Linked DNA regions of Homo sapiens: regions 2, 3, 4, 5 and 6 are each linked to region 1. The links are contacts of gene promoters, found by promoter capture Hi-C in human tissues and cell types (Jung and others, 2019). All regions are on one chromosome and are shown on one strand. Each heading gives the region's core, a stretch centred on a gene start or on the middle of the fragment in contact. The rest is flanking DNA. Distances are from core to core; before and after follow the strand shown. Region 1 holds the start of PSMA6 (proteasome 20S subunit alpha 6). Region 2 has its middle 10 kb from the start of INSM2. Region 3 overlaps FAM177A1 (family with sequence similarity 177 member A1). Region 4 overlaps PPP2R3C (protein phosphatase 2 regulatory subunit B''gamma). Region 5 overlaps PRORP (protein only RNase P catalytic subunit). Region 6 has its middle 25 kb from the start of NFKBIA.

Region 1 (2,524 bases), core at 8-2,507:
GGGACTACTGGCGCGCGCCACCACGCACAGCTAATTTTATTTTTTGTAGAGACGGGGCCTTCCTATGTTGGCCAGGCTGGAGTTAGGCTTTCTTTCTTTTTTTTTTTTTTTGAGACGGAGTCTCGCTCTGTCGCCCAGGCTGGAGTGCAGTGGCATGATCTCGGCTCACTGCAAGCTCCGCCTCTCCGGTTCACGCCGTTCTCCTGCCTCAGCCTCCCAAGTATATGGGACTACAGGCGCCCGCCACCACGCCTGGCTAATTTTTTTTGTATTTTTTAGTAGAGACGGGGTTTCACCGTGTTAGCCAGGATGGTCTCAATCTCCTGACCTCGTGATCCGCCCGCCTTGGTCTCCCAAAGTGCTGGGATTACAGGCGTGAGCCACCGCGCCCGGCCTCCGCTTTCAAGACTAAAAATTGCCTGGGCACTGTGGCTCAAGCCTGTAATCCCAGCACTCTGGGAGGCCGAGGAAGGTGGATCACTTGGGCTCAGGAGTTCGAGAGCTGCCTGACCAACATGGCGAAACCCCGCCTCTACTAAAAATACAAAATTAGCCGGTCCTGGTGGCACACGCCTATAATCCCAGCTACTCGGGAGGATGAGGCAGGAGAATCGCTTGAACTCAGGAGGGGGAGGTTGCAGTCAGCCGAGATCGCGCCATTGCACTCCAGCCTGGGCAACAAGGGCGAAACTCTGTCTCAAAAAAAAAAAAAAAAAAAAAAAAGACTAAAAATTGTCGGGGCTGCTGGCCAAAAGAAGATCTTGCCTGGCTGTCAGAAAATAATGTTCTTTCCAGCGGCTGCTTGAACCCGCTTCCTTCAGTGCCTAAATTTAACGGCTGCAGCTGCAGCTGCAACCTGTTTCCCCCGTAATAGGAATGAAAGTGGAGGATAAAAGAGGTTAGGAAGAAGGCAAGCCAGCAGTCTGACCAGACACAGGATGCATGTAAGAGACTTGTTAATTACACGTTCTATTTAGGTCACACTGATAGGCAAATCGCTATTCTGGGCCCCCAGGAAGCCTTTTCGTCCTTGCTATAGTCAATTCATTCTCCAGATGAAAGCCTGAAAGCGCCACGACCCAAGTTTCACGTCTATCCACTCAAGAGGCCTGCTTGGCGCAGGCGCATACCTTCAAAGGCCTCCCGCCCTCACTCCACCACCCCCTTAGGGGGCGGGGCCTCAGAGCTCAGTGCTCGAACTGGCTCCAGAGCCGTGAGTTCGGCATGCAAGAGCGGAAGAAACGCGGCTGGTACCCCGGAAGCAGTCGCTGCAACTTCCGGGAGGTGCTTGTGTGCCTGGTGCGGGAGCTACGGGGCCCAGGGATTGTGTTTAAAGTAGTGCTTCTACCAACATGTCCCGTGGTTCCAGCGCCGGTTTTGACCGCCACATTACCATTTTTTCACCCGAGGGTCGGCTCTACCAAGTAGGTGAGTGAACCAGGTTCGCCTGTGGGCCACCTGAATTGCCCTGTCATGGTACGTGCCTGGAGCGAGCAGACGCGGCCCGGGTTTAGTCTGGGGCCGAAGCTGGGCTGGAGCTGGGAAGGGAGAACGGCTGAAGCTGGATTGAGCTCTGTGGTGTTTGCACCCCCGTCTGGACGCAGGGATCGGGGGCCTGAAGGCCTGTCTCTGCAGGGCGAGCGGCCACACTGCGTAGACCCAATGGAGAGTTAAGGAAGATAGGGCTGTAATGCCTGACTCCGGCTTCGTGAGGCCCCTTCAGTTATTGTATTCTGTCCTGGCCAGGCACAAGGTCTGTTTCTAAAGGGTAATTGATTCCTTAACGTCTCAACTAAAATGCCTCCTCTCCGTTTTCCTTTGTTTGCAGCATGGACTTCTGTGGTTAATTCCACACAGGCACTCGAAGCCTGCTATATACCAGACACTGCTAGTCCTAGGAGATACAAATGTGAATGTTACACCCTCTTCTATACTGAAGCTCACAGCTTAGAGTGACAGATACGTTAAACAAACGGATAAAAAAAATTAAAAGTGCCAATTTACAAATATCTACAGAGTTCAAGACATCTTTGGGAATCTGATAGAATGAGTGACTCAATTCTAGAGCTGCTCTTGAGATTGGCATCCCCTTTTTACCCACATCTGTTTGAATGCTCCTGTAATTTAAATGCCGATTCTGAGTTGTAGATGAGGTACTGTGTACTAGTTTACTGAAGAACACCTGTAGTGGAAAGAAACTATCAGTTACTCGGAATAGTAATGTATTGCGCTGAAACGGTGTCAAGGTTTAGGTTATGATTATAAGCCAGACCCTTGATCTCTTACCATAGAGAATTTAGTGTCAGGAGGGCTTGATTTACATCTGGTCCGTGATGGTTTTATTTTTGAATGAGTTTAGTGGCTCCGTGTCTTGCACAGTAATATAATCATCTGTGCTTGGAATCATAAGGAGAGAGTTGGTCTGTAAATGAGGTTCTCTTCACCTGTAAATTTTAGAAATAGAGTTAAAGATAACTTGGAATGAAACTGCTCAGTGTATTACTGCATAGTGTATATAATGTAG
Region 2 (2,524 bases), core at 9-2,508, 230 kb after region 1:
ATATTATGAAATGGTTACTATCCAATCAGAACTGATAATGGCCATAGAGCTGGAGCAGGGCCCTAGAGCCCCATTGGTATATTGGGCGTTAACTCTTTAGCTGATGGATAATGGGGAGGTGGGTAGTGAAGAGGCTACAATAACTGACCAGAGTCAAGGGGAAGAGCATTTGGAAAGGTAGTGGTTATTTGCTAATGTTATGGAAGTATTTTAATATTTTAATAACTGAAATGGTTTTTTCTGGTGGAACCAGCTATATAATAAACAAAGGACTCTGAGAAAAATAAACAGAAAATTTGAATAGGTTAAATTACAAAGAGTAAAATTACAATTTCAATAAATAGATTATAAGATGTTAAACTTCATTAATAATAAAATACAAGTTTATTTTCGCAAAACAACACTTTTATTTATTTATTTTTTTGAGATGAGTCTCACTCTGTCACCCAGGCTGGAGTGCAGTGGCGCGACCTCGGCTCACTACAACCTCCTCCTCCCGGTTTCAAGCAATTCTCCTGCTTCAGCCTCCCGAGTAGCCGGGACTACAGGCGAGCGCCACCATGCCCAGCTAATTTTTGTAGTTTTTGTAGAGACTGGTTTCACCATGTTGGCCAGGCTGGTCTTGAACTCCTGACCTCGAGTGATCTGCCTGCCTTGGCCTCCCAAAGTACTGGGATTACAGGCGTGAGCCACCGTGACCGGCTACACTTTTTACTTATCTTACTGGCAATATTTTTTCTCATGTTTGACAGAACATAGTTGAGAGAACAGGAAAAGTGGCACTCCTATGCCTGCTGACAGAAGTATAAATAGGCACAATCATTGTGAAGGATAGCTTTGTAATAATTACCAAAAACTTTTAAAATGTTGTTCTGATTTAATGGTTCTGGTAATGTTAGGCTAAATTAAGCAGATAAATCCTCCTAGTGAAAATAACTAACAGAGCTGGATTTTAAAAATATTCTTAAAGCATAAAAGAGTATGAAACACAGTAAGGAATTACTAAAGGTGAAGGAAAAATGGGAACCCATATGTGGAGACTGTTCTGCCCTGAGGAAATTTTCTGACTCATGACAATTAGAATCTTCATTCTGGTAGACTTGCAGGGCAAGGGAGACAGAAAGAAAAACCCAGGATGTGTATAAGATAGAAAATCTAATAGAAGATCCTCCCCAACAAGATACTGGGACTCCAAAGCCCTTGAGAATTTACTGCTTGTATTCAAATTGCCTGGGTCAGTGAATTTTAAGCCTTGAACTTGGGTTAAAGTAATTCTAAATTGGTAGTGCCAGAAGCAAATATAAATCCTCTTTGAAGCAAGACACCTTTATTATAGGCCTAAAATCATTTCTAGAAATAATTCTTCAAATGTAATGTTCAGCACCTAATAAAAAAATAACAGATACATAAGGAAACTAGATTAAACGGGCAAGTATCAGTAGAGACAACAGACAATAAAAACAGACTCACAAATAACTCAAATATTGAATTTATCAGACTCAGACTATAAAATAAGACTACAAAACAATTATGAAGAGTATGTTTAAAGACAAAAGACCAACTTGATGCTGTCTACAGAGAACAGAAAACCACAAAGAGTAACGCAGCAGGTTTGACTTTGAAAAAAGAATCATATAGAATTTTATTGTGATTTTAAATATATTTTTATTTTATAAATAAAAATAAATTTTATAGCTAATTTTTAAAATACAAATTTAAAATCCAGGGCCAGGTGCCGTGGCTCATGCCTGTAATCCCAGCACTTTGGGAGGCCAAGGCAGGCAGATCACGAGGTCAGGAGATCGAGATCATCCTGGTCAACATGGTGAAACCCCGTCTCTACTAAAAATACACAAATTAGCTGGGTATGGTGGTGCACACCTGTAATCCCAGTTACTCGGGAGGCTGAGGCAGGAGAATCGCTTGAACCTAGGAGGTGGAGATTGCGGTGAGCCAAGATTGCACCACTGCACTCCAGCCTGGCGACAAAGCGAGACTCCGTCTCAAACAAATAAATAAATAAATAAATAATAAAATCCAACAGATTTTAAGTGTATACTACATTAGACATACTTCAAGATTTAGTAAACCTGAAGAACATCAGAAGAAATATTCCAGAGGCAAGAAAAGAAAAGAAAAAAATATATATAAGAAGGAAAAAGACACAGAAGGTACAGTGACAATGTCTAACATAGGTTTGGCCAGGGTTCTAGAAGGAGAAAAAAAGATAAGACAAAATAGAAGCAATTATCTGAAAAGTTAACTGCTGAGGATTTTTCAAACTGACATTACTTCAAAGCACTGATTTTTTTTTTTTTTTTTTTGAGATGGAGTCTCGCTCTGTTGCCCAGGCTGGAGTGCAGTGGCGCGATCTTGGCTCACTGCAAGCTCCGCCTCCCAGGTTCACGCCATTCTCCTGCCTCAACCTCCCGAGTAGCTGGGACTAGAGGCACCTGCCACCACGCTCAGCTAATTTTTTGTATTTTTAGTAGAGACGGGGTTTCATCGTGTTAGCCAGGATGGT
Region 3 (2,524 bases), core at 13-2,512, 230 kb before region 1:
ATCTCTGAGCCAAGGTTTTGGAGCTGGGGGTGGGGACAATGGCTCATTTCTGTCTGAATAACACCTTCACTTTAGGAGCTGAGCATTTATGGGAGGTGGGGTCAGTAGCTTTAAGTATTTTTTTTTTTTTTTAGTCTTTGTTTTACAAATGTCTATTTGTTTTTTTCTCATTTCTTTTTTTTTTTTTTTATCTCACTCATAGATGGGAATTGAACAATGAGAACACATGGACACAGGAAGGGGAACATCACACTCTGGGGACTGTTGTGGGGTGGGGGGAGGGGGGAGGGACAGCATTAGGAGATATACCTAATGCTAAATGACAAGTTAATGGGTGCAGCACACCAGCATGGCACATGTATACATATGTAACTAACTGGCACATTGTGCACATGTACCCTAAAACTTAAAGTATAATAATATTAAAAAAAAAAGCTGTAAGTATTTTTGACTTGCCTCTGCTGGCGTAGAACTTGCCTCTGCTGCCTTATGAACTGGGTAAAGGCGATCAGGGCCCTGGTGTTCTCAGTGGTGCCATGCTCAAGGTAGAGCCTCCATTCTGTGAGCAGAGGCTGGTGGAAGAAGAGAGTCACCCCCTGTCAACCACACTTACCTGGAAATTGGCCTCAGTAATAGATGAGAAGTGCTGGTTAATATTCTGTTCCTCCTGAGAAGAAAACCCAACTGGAAGCTGAGGGGAGGGGGAACCCTGTATTCTTGGCTGTACCAGTCTGAAGTGCAGTTTCTGCCTTCCTTTGCTGGGAGGGTGCTGAGAGGGAGTGGTCTTAGTTCAGTTACCACAGACGTTTGCTTTTGTTACCAAATTTTCATAGATTTTCTTGAATAGATGTTTATTCATTTATATGCCATTAAGACCATTTCCAGGTGCTTTAAATGTTTATTCTTTAATAAATTTCATCAGTTTTACTGGGAAGTGGGCCCAGAGTTCCTCATGCTGTTATGATAGAGGTCTATATCCACTATTAAGGTCTTTAATGACCATGTATATAGCATATTCATGTTGGAATTTCCCTGAGTTGTGAAGCCCAATCCAACAGATCCCTGGGTGATAAGAAATCTTTTTATATTTTCTTCACTGAGAGGTACCATGAGATGTCAGAAACTTGGTTTTTAGTTCTGGCTCTGTCCTGTAGTAGTCACCTTGCTTTGACAAAGACTTAACTTTCATTGTAGTTAAAGTTCCATGATTACAAAGAAGAGAGATAACTTGCCTCACCTACCTGTAGTTGTTTTTAAAGATTAAATGAGATAATATCTATGAAAACTCACTGAAAAGTGACTTGGCTGAGCACAGTGCCTCATGCCTATAATCTTTGCTTTGGAGGGCTGAGGCAAGAGGATTGCTTGAGCCCAGGAATTCAAGGCTGCAGTGAGCCATGATCATGCCACTGTACTCCAGCCCGGGCAACAAAGTGAGACCCTGTCTCAAAAAAAAAAAAAAGAAAAGAAAAATATATGGTAGTATTAATTAATAAAGCAAATATAGCAAGTAGCACAAGAAATTTTATTTGCGGTTTTTTTTTTTTTTTTACTTAAGGTAATTTTAGAACTCGATTTGAGATTGAAACCCCATAACTTATTTTTTAAATTTTCTCTATAGTTCCTATTTAGTATCATTTAAAAAAAAAAAAAGGTCGGGTGCGGTGGACCACGCCTGTAATCCCAGCACTTTGGGAGGCTGAGGTAGGCGGATGAATGGCAGGAGAATGGCTTGAACCCGGGAGTCGGAGATTGCAGTGAGCCAAGATCGCGCCACTGCACTCCAGCCTGGCAACAGAGTGAGACTCCATCTCAAAAAAAAAAAAAAAAAAAGATCTAGTTCTATATTCAGATTTTAGTATCATTTTAGAGTTTATAAAATTGATTTATGACTCCAATTTTTAAATATCAATTTTAAAGCTTTAAAATTATATTTTCCCTTTGGGGCCAGGCATGGTGGCTCTTGCCTGTAATCCCAGCACTTTGGGAAGCCAAGGTGGGTGGATCCCTGAGGTCAGGAGTTTGAGACCTGCCTGGCCAACATGGTGAAACCCCGTCTCTACTAAAAAAAAAATACAAAAAATTAGCCAGGCATGGGGGCGGGTGCCTGTAATCCCAGCCGCTTGGGAGGCTGAGGCAGGAGAATCGCTTGAACCTGGGAGGTGGAGGTTGCAGTGAGTCAAGATCCCGCCATTGCACTCCAGCCTGGGCAACAAGAGTGAAACGCCATCTCAAAATAAATAAATAAATTTTCTCCATAGTTCCTATTTAGTGTCATTTTCTTTTTGAAATAACAAATCTAGTCCTGCACCCAGATTTAGTATCATTTTAGAGTTTATAAAATTGATTTGCTTTATGATTCCAATTTTGAAATATCAAGTTTAAAGCTTTAAAATTATATTTTTTCTTTTGGGCCACATTACATGGCTCTTGCCTGTAATCCCAGCACTTTGGGAGGCTGAGGTGGGCAGATCACTTGAGGCCAGGAGTTTGAGACCAGCCTGGCCAACATGGTAAAACCCTG
Region 4 (2,524 bases), core at 15-2,514, 200 kb before region 1:
TGCTGGGACTAGAGGGATGAACTACTGCATCCTGCTTCAAACTTTTGAAACAGATGACTAAGCTATAAACTTATAACTTCATTTCAGTGCAGTTATTTTGAAAAACAAATTTTTTATCTGGAATGAACAGAACAGTATAATTTTTTTTTTGAGATGGAGTTTCGCTCTTGTTGCCCAGGCTGGAGTGCAATGGCGCGATCCTGGCTCACCACAACCTCTGCCTCCCAGGTTCAAGTCATTCTCCTGCCTCAGCCTCCTGAGTATCTGGGATTACAGGCATGCACCACCACGCCTGGCTAATTTTGTATTTTTAGTAGAGAAGCGGTTTCTCCAAGTTGGTCAGGCTGGTCTCAAAACTCCCAACCTCAGGTGATCCACCCACCTCGGCCTCCCAAAATGCTAGGATTACAGGTGTGAGCCACCGTGCCCAGTCTCAGAACAGTATATTTAAATTGCTATTTTAAAATATTGTTTAAAATTTTTAATTCAGATTTCCAATAAGAAGCTGTCTTGAGATTGCCAGACATTTTACAGTGAGCTGACACTGCTCTCATCCATAAAAAGGCAAAATGGAAAGGCCAGAAAGACATGAAGAGAACAGAAAGCCTTCCCTATAAAAACAGGATACGCACTTCGGGGGGCCGAGGCGGGCAGATCAGAAGGTCAAGAGATCGAGACCATACTGGCTAACACGGTGAAACTCCGTCTCTACTAAAAATACAAAAAAAAATTAGCCGGGCATGGTGGCGGGCGCCTGTAGTCCCAGCTACTCGGGAGGCTGAGGCAGGAGAATGGCGTCAACCCGGGAGGCGGAGCTTGCAGTGAGCCGAGATCGCGCCACTGCACTCCAGCCTGGGCGACAGAGGGAGACTCCATCTAAAACAAAAACAAAAACAACAAAACAAAACAAAAAAACAGGATACTCAGATTTTTTTTTTAATGGTAAAAAGTAGTAATTGGGAGGTTCTCACTTAGATAAAAATTTTATATTCTTAGAAAAGTTCCTTTCTGCATAAATAGCACTAAAGAGTTAAAGAATGCAGATTGTGATCTGACTTCATCCATAGTTGTAGCCTGATTTTCTCTATTCATCAGGAATCATTATATTAATAATATAAGCTCCTCACTGTCTATTGTTTACAGCTGTGGGAGTTACAAAGTAAATTTTCTGTGCCTTTTCCCCTCTTTTCTTTTGTTGTTACTAATGGTGTTATTTAGCAAACTGCTATTGAAGCTAAATGATAAATGTAAGACCCCCCCATTCTCATGACAATATGACTATTTTTTAAGCATAACTGGTTTGGGAAATTTATCAGATTCTTTTTTTTTTTGAGATGGAGTCTCGCTCAGTTGCCCAGGCTGGAGTGCAGTGGCGCCATCTCGGCTTACTGCAAGCTCCGCCTCCCGGGTTCACACCATTACACCATTCTGCCTCAGCCTCTGGAGTAGCTGGGACTACAGGTGCCCGTCACCGCACCCAGCTAATTTTTTGTATTTTTAGTAGAGACGGGGTTTCACCGTGTTAGCCAGGATGGTCTCCATCTCCTGACCTTGTGATCCACCCGCCTCGGCCTCCCAAAGTTATCAGATTCTTAACCCATGTTTTTAGCAGCAAAAATGGTGATTTTAAAATGCTGTTTAGAATTTTCCTTCTCAAGTATTTTGCATTGTTATAATAAAAAGACAAGTGCATGTTATCTTCAGCTGTTCATATAGCCACTTCTAGAGACTAATACAACCTGATTCTCAGAATTAAATCATGGCATATGTGTTACTACATTTGACCTGGTAATTTAATGACGGAACTATCTAGCTGAAAATAGCCAGAATAATTTACTAATGTTTCAGCTTTTAAGAGACATGGTCTCACTCTACTGCCCAGACTGGAGTGCAGTGGCCTCATCATAGCTCACTGCAGCCTCAAATTCCTCAGGTCAAGCAATCCTCCTGCCTCAGCCTCCCGAGTAGCTATACTACAGGCACATTCCATCCATGCCCAAGTAATTTTTTTATTTTTTGTAGAGACAGTCTCGCTGTATTGCTCAGGCTAGTTTTGAACGACTGGCCTTAAGTGGTTCTGTGGCCTTGGCCTCCCAAAGCGCTGGGATTATAACCATAAGCTACCAAGCCTGGCCTCAGCTTTTTTTTAAAAAAAAAAAAAAACTAGAATGCACTACTGTACAGTAGGTGCACTGACAATGAAATGAACAATAAGCTTTTCTATTTGCCCTGAGGCCATAATGCAGATGTTTTAATTTACGTTAAGACCAAAGACTCTGAATCTCAAGTAATTTGATCAGTTTACACATTTTAAAGACACTGTTACACAGTGATATCAATAATGCTGGGCCGAGTGTGGTGGCTCACGCCTCGTAATCCCAGCACTTTGGGAGGCAGATCACCTGAGGTCAGGAGTTCAAGACCAGCCTGGCCAACCTGGTGAAACCCCATCTCTCCTAAAAGTACAAAAATTAGCTGGATGCAGTGGCATGCACCCATAATCCCAGCTACTCCGGAGGCTGAG
Region 5 (2,524 bases), core at 16-2,515, 150 kb before region 1:
CAACTGTTTTCCAGAGTGGTTGTACCATTTTACATTTCCACCAGCAGAGTATGAGGGCTATAGTAGCCCCACATCCTGGCTGATGCTTAGTATGGTTAAGGTTAGTCTCTTTACTGTTCTAATAGGTATGAAGTGGTATCTCATTGTGATTTTAATTTAGATTTTCCTAATGACTAATGTTGTTGAGCATCTTTTTATATGCTTAATTGCCATCCATATATCTTTGGTATAATATTTATTTGTTCAGATTTTTTGCCTATTTTAAAAATTGGATTGTTTCATTATTGAGTTGTAAGAACTGTTTCTATATTCTAGATACAAGTCCTAAGTCCAATATATTTTACAAATATTTTCTGTCAGTCTGTGGTTGACTTTCATTTCATAACATGGAGATTCTGATTTAATTGCTTTGGCTTGGTGGGGTCCAGGTATTAGGATTTTCAAAAGCTTCCAGGTGATTTTAAAGTGCAGCTAGAATCAAGGACAATTGCTTCTAATGTGAGATTTTGAGGAAACTTAAAGTATGGCAGCTTCTTTTCTGTTGAATAGTTTTGGGAGAAAAATCTCAGTTATTATATAAGGTAATTTTTTAGCTTTTCTGTTTTAAACATTTGTTTACTGTAATTAGACAACATAGCCAGCAGATGGCAATAATGTAACATATAAAAATTATTCTAGGTATGACCAAGTCCATCAGGTTAAAGGATTTGTTGAACTTTTTAAAATATTAAACTGAAAGATATCTGTCATTTCTGTGTAAGTCAGATTAGTGATAGTAGGTAGAGAAAAGAGTGGTATATGTGAATTTTAAGTGAACAAAGCAGAATTCCAAATAATTTGCATCTACTGATTTAACTACTGACACTAATTGAGTGGGCATCAGTGAAGGTCAAAAAGTGAATTTGGAGCTATGCGCATAGTGTTACTTTAATGTTAATTAGGTTTTTTTCTTATTTTCCTTCCTTCTTTTTCTTTTTTTTTTTGTTTTTGTTTGTTTGTTTTGTTTTGTTTTTTGAGACAAGTTCTTACTATTCACCCAGGCTGGAATACAGTGGCATGATCATAACTCACTGCAGCCTTGAACTCCTGGGCTGAAGTAATCCTCCTGCCTCATCCTCCTGGGTAGCTAGGATTCAGGTGTGTACCATCACATCTGGCTAATTTTTTTATTTTAATTTTTTCTGTAGAGACGGGGTCTCACTATGTTGCCTAGGCTGGTCTTGAACTCCTGGCTTCTAGTGGTCCTCCCACCTTGGCCTCCCAAAGTGCTGAGATTTCAGGTGTGAGCTACTATGCCTAGACATGGTTCTTGATAATAACATTAAATTACAGTCAGATTTTTTATATTCAACTACAAAGATAATAATTCTTTAATATTTTCATTAGAGAAAATTTCAAACATAATCAAAAAGAGACTAACATAATGGACCCCCATCCTCCATGATTATTAACTCATGACCACTTTTTTTTTGACAGGGTCTTGCTCTGTCACCTAAGCTGGAGTGCAGTGGCACAATCACGGCTCACTGCAGCTGAGACCTCCTGGGCTCAAGTGATCCTCCCACCTCAGCCTCATGAGTAGCTGGGACTACAGGCATGTGGCACAACACCTGGGCAATTTTTTTTTTTTAAGACGGAGTGTTGCTGTTGTTGCCCAGGCTGGAGTGCAATGGCACGATTTCGGCTCACTGCAACCTCTGCCTCCTGGGTTCAAACGATTCTCCTGCCTCAGCCTCCTGAGTAGCTGGGATTACAGGTGCCTGCAACCACGCCCAGCTAATTTTTGTATTTTTAGTGGAGACAGGGTTTCACCATGTTGGCCAGGCTGGTCTTGAACTCCTGACCTCAGCTGATCCATCCGCCTCGGCCTCCTAAAGTGCTGGGATTACAGGCGTGAGCCACCGCGCCCAGCCTTAATTTATTATCTTATGTAGAGATGGAGTCTCATTATGTTGCCAAGGCTGGTGTTGAACTCCTGGGCTCAAGCATTCCTCCCACCTCAGCCTCCCAAAGTGCTGGGATAATAAGTGTGAGCCACCACACCTGGAAGCTCATCCTGTAAATTATAAATTCATTGCTTTTTTTTTTTTTTTTTTCCAAGAGATGACGCCTTGCTCTTTTGCCCAAGCTGGGGTGCAATGGTGTGATCATAGCTCACTGCAGCAATGAACTCCTGGGCTGGAGCAATCCTCCCACCTCAACTTCCCAAGTAGCTAGGACTTACAGGTGCATGCCACCCTGCCCTGCTAATTTTTAAATTAAAAAAAAAAAAATTTTAGATAGGGTAGAGATGGCATTGGGCTTGGTGGCTCACACCTGTAATCCTAGCACTTTGGGAGGCCGAGGTGGGTGGATTGCCTGAGCTCAGAAGTTTGAGACTAGCCTGGACAACATGGCAAAACCCGTTCTCTAATAAAAATACAAAAAATTAGCTGGGCATAGTGGCTCATGCCTGTAGTCCTAGCTACTCGGGAGGCTGAGGCAGGAGAATTGCTTGAACCCAGGAAGCTGAGGTTGCAGTGAG
Region 6 (2,524 bases), core at 7-2,506, 140 kb after region 1:
CTCTTTGCAATCTCAATTCCCTGACTCCTTTGCCAATATGTATTCTTCCTATATTTTCATACTTTTGGTACATATGAATGTATCTGTAAATAATGGATATTAATACTATTAAGTCTTACATAAATGGTATCTTAAATGTATCCTTTTGCAAATTACTTTTCCATTCACCATTATGATTTGAGATTTACTCATATGGATTCATGTTGTTCCTTCACGTAACTTCATTGCTATATTCTACATTTATTCATCCATTTCCTTACTTGTGATAGACAATACTATGGTGAATATTTTCTGTATGTGTCCCCTTAGGCACATCCATGATGGTTTCTTCAGGGCAGTGATACTCAAAGTGTGATGCATGAACCAGCAGCATCAGTATGACCTGGGATTTGTTAGAAATGTAAATTTTTGGGCTTTAACCCATGCTTACTGAATCAGAAACGGGGGTGGGGTGGGGTGGGGCCTACCAAACTACTTTAATAAGTTCTCCAGTGATTCTGACGCACACTAAAGTTTGAGAATTACTGTTCTAGCTATAATTTTATAGAATTGCTGGGTTATAGGATATGTGTATTTACAAATTTATGAGATTTAGACAAATTGTCTTTAAAGTGATTGTGCTAATTTACACTCTATTTTTAAAAAAGCTTAAGTAATGTTTTTGTTACTTTAATACATTGAATATTAATTTATTAAGCTGAAGTAACATCTCATCTGTCCATACAGGCAGCCCTTGAAGACATTTTGTTTTACTTTATTTTATTTTTTTTGAGATGAAGTCTCACTCTGTTGCCCAAGCTGGGGTGCCGTGGTACAATCTCAGCTCAGTGCAGCCTCCGCCTCCCGGGTTCACGCCATTCTCCTGCCTCAGCCTTCCAAGTAGCTGGGACTACAGGCGCCCGCCACTACGCCCGGCTAATTTTTTTGTATTTTAGTAGAGACGGGATTTCACTGTGTTAGCCAGGTTGGTCTCGATCTCCTGACCTTGTGATCCGCCCGCCTCGGCCTCCCAAAGTGCTGGGATTACAGGCGTGAGCCACTGCGCCCGGCCAATTTACACTCTTAAATATAGTTTCTGCCCATAGATTTTAACTTTTTAAAAAAGTTGTGGGGAAATGGCGGCTTCAGGAGAGAGCGGGACTTTGGGCGGCGGAGGCGGCACAGAGGAAGCATTTATGACCTCCTACAGTGAGGAATAAAGATGGCATACAGCATACCTCATATTCATTCCAACCCTGACAGTGACACCAAGAATGTTTTCCTGGGACTGCCTGGTGCTTGTTCTCCCGGGCCTTGTCTTCAGGGGAAACAAATAGAGAAGGGAGACTTGGTTCTAACATCCAAAAACCACATTGAAAGACTGACCCGTCCTGGTTCCTCTTACTTCAATTTGAACCCATTTGAGTTTCTTCAGATAGATCCTGAAGTTACAGATGAAGAAATAAAAAAGAGGTTTCGGCAGTTATCCATCTTGGTGCATCCTGACAAAAATGAAGATGATGCTGACAGAGCACAAAAGGCTTTTGAAACTGTGGACAAAGCTTACAAGTTGCTACTGATCAGGAGCAAAAGAAGAGGGTCCTGGATGTAATTTAGGCAGGAAAAGAATACGTGGAACACACTGTGAAAGAGAGAAAAAAAAAAAACAATCAAAGAAGGAAGGAAAACCTACGATTGTAGAGGAGGATGATCCTGAGCTGTTCAAACAAGCTGTATATAAACAGAAAATGAAACTCTTTGCTCAGCTGGAAATTAAAAGGAAAGAGAGAGAAGCCAAAGAGATGCATGAAAGGAAACGGCAAAGGGAAGAAGAGATTGAAGCTCAAGAAAAAGCCAAACGAGAAAGAGAGTGGCAGAAAAACTTTGAGGAAGGTCGAGATGGTCGTGTGGACAGCTGGCGAAACTTCCAAGTCAATACAAAGGGGAAGAAAGAGAAGAAAAATCGGACCTTCCTGAGACCACCGAAAGTAAAAATGGAGCAGCATGAGTGACCACCCGGGGTCACAGGCACAGAACCTTCCCCCTGCTATCTCCCTTCCTGCTTCGAAGGACTCATTCTTTCCTCCCACTTCCACCTCAACATAGAGTAGTATTTGCTTTTTAGTCTGTTTCGTTTTGAATACAATTTAATATCGATCAGAGTAATTCTTTTGTACAATGAAATGAGGGGACTGGTTTAAAAAAAGACCTTCCTCCTCCCTGCCCCTAGAACAACCAGGATTGGAAGGTGGCACCATTGGTGCTGCCTTCTCTTCCCACAGCCTGTAACTCAGTGTTTTGTACTTCACTGAATTGTGATGGTTAGAAACTTCGTCCTAGTTTGTGGAAATCATCCAATTAAACATATTACTTAAAATGGTGTTGCTGTGACGTCAGAGACAGGCCTGGAAGGGGCACTTTGGAAGCCCCTTGGCTTCAGTTGCTCGCTTCTGGGTGTGCTCCCTTAGAAGGCCCAGATAAGACAGGGAACACCTGTGGGCACACAGAACAGGCACCTGATGCCCTGATGCCCTGTGGTGTTTGG

Evidence for each region. The method cuts DNA at HindIII sites, captures the fragments that hold promoters and counts their contacts. A contact is called where the count stands out against the background at its distance.
Region 2: a fragment that was not itself captured here is called in contact with the fragment with the promoter of PSMA6 in region 1 in 1 of the 25 tissues and cell types used here (hippocampus).
Region 3: a contact is called between a fragment that was not itself captured here and the fragment with the promoter of PSMA6 in region 1, in 1 of the 25 tissues and cell types used here (hippocampus).
Region 4: a contact is called between a fragment that was not itself captured here and the fragment with the promoter of PSMA6 in region 1, in 1 of the 25 tissues and cell types used here (liver).
Region 5: a fragment that was not itself captured here is called in contact with the fragment with the promoter of PSMA6 in region 1 in 1 of the 25 tissues and cell types used here (hippocampus).
Region 6: a fragment that was not itself captured here is called in contact with the fragment with the promoter of PSMA6 in region 1 in 2 of the 25 tissues and cell types used here (dorsolateral prefrontal cortex and hippocampus).

Annotation. Positions count from the first base shown.
Region 1 is chr14:35,291,125-35,293,648 of GRCh38, forward strand. PSMA6 (proteasome 20S subunit alpha 6) reads left to right here and starts at 1,258. Exons shown (of 7, transcript NM_002791.3): 1 at 1,258-1,428. The coding sequence starts at 1,353. All of the region lies in intron 9 of PRORP-PSMA6 (PRORP-PSMA6 readthrough), which reads left to right. RefSeq lists enhancers at 959-1,545, 1,262-1,341, 1,462-1,581, 1,662-1,721. The HindIII fragment of the contact is 27,585 bases long and covers 1-2,524 here.
Region 2 is chr14:35,522,881-35,525,404 of GRCh38, forward strand. No RefSeq gene overlaps it. Among named protein-coding and RNA genes, the nearest start is that of INSM2, 10 kb to the right of the region's middle. The HindIII fragment of the contact is 5,921 bases long and covers 1-2,524 here.
Region 3 is chr14:35,061,346-35,063,869 of GRCh38, forward strand. The region is part of intron 2 of FAM177A1 (family with sequence similarity 177 member A1); the gene reads left to right. Among named protein-coding and RNA genes, the nearest start is that of FAM177A1, 16 kb to the left of the region's middle. The HindIII fragment of the contact is 3,938 bases long and covers 1-2,524 here.
Region 4 is chr14:35,092,334-35,094,857 of GRCh38, forward strand. The region is part of intron 10 of PPP2R3C (protein phosphatase 2 regulatory subunit B''gamma); the gene reads right to left. All of the region lies in intron 1 of LOC101927178 (a long non-coding RNA gene), which reads left to right. Among named protein-coding and RNA genes, the nearest start is that of PRORP-PSMA6, 28 kb to the right of the region's middle. The HindIII fragment of the contact is 3,789 bases long and covers 1-2,524 here.
Region 5 is chr14:35,140,266-35,142,789 of GRCh38, forward strand. All of the region lies in intron 4 of PRORP (protein only RNase P catalytic subunit), which reads left to right. All of the region lies in intron 4 of PRORP-PSMA6 (PRORP-PSMA6 readthrough), which reads left to right. Among named protein-coding and RNA genes, the nearest start is that of PRORP, 19 kb to the left of the region's middle. The HindIII fragment of the contact is 3,860 bases long and covers 1-2,524 here.
Region 6 is chr14:35,428,641-35,431,164 of GRCh38, forward strand. It overlaps the pseudogene DNAJC8P1. Among named protein-coding and RNA genes, the nearest start is that of NFKBIA, 25 kb to the left of the region's middle. The HindIII fragment of the contact is 3,253 bases long and covers 1-2,524 here.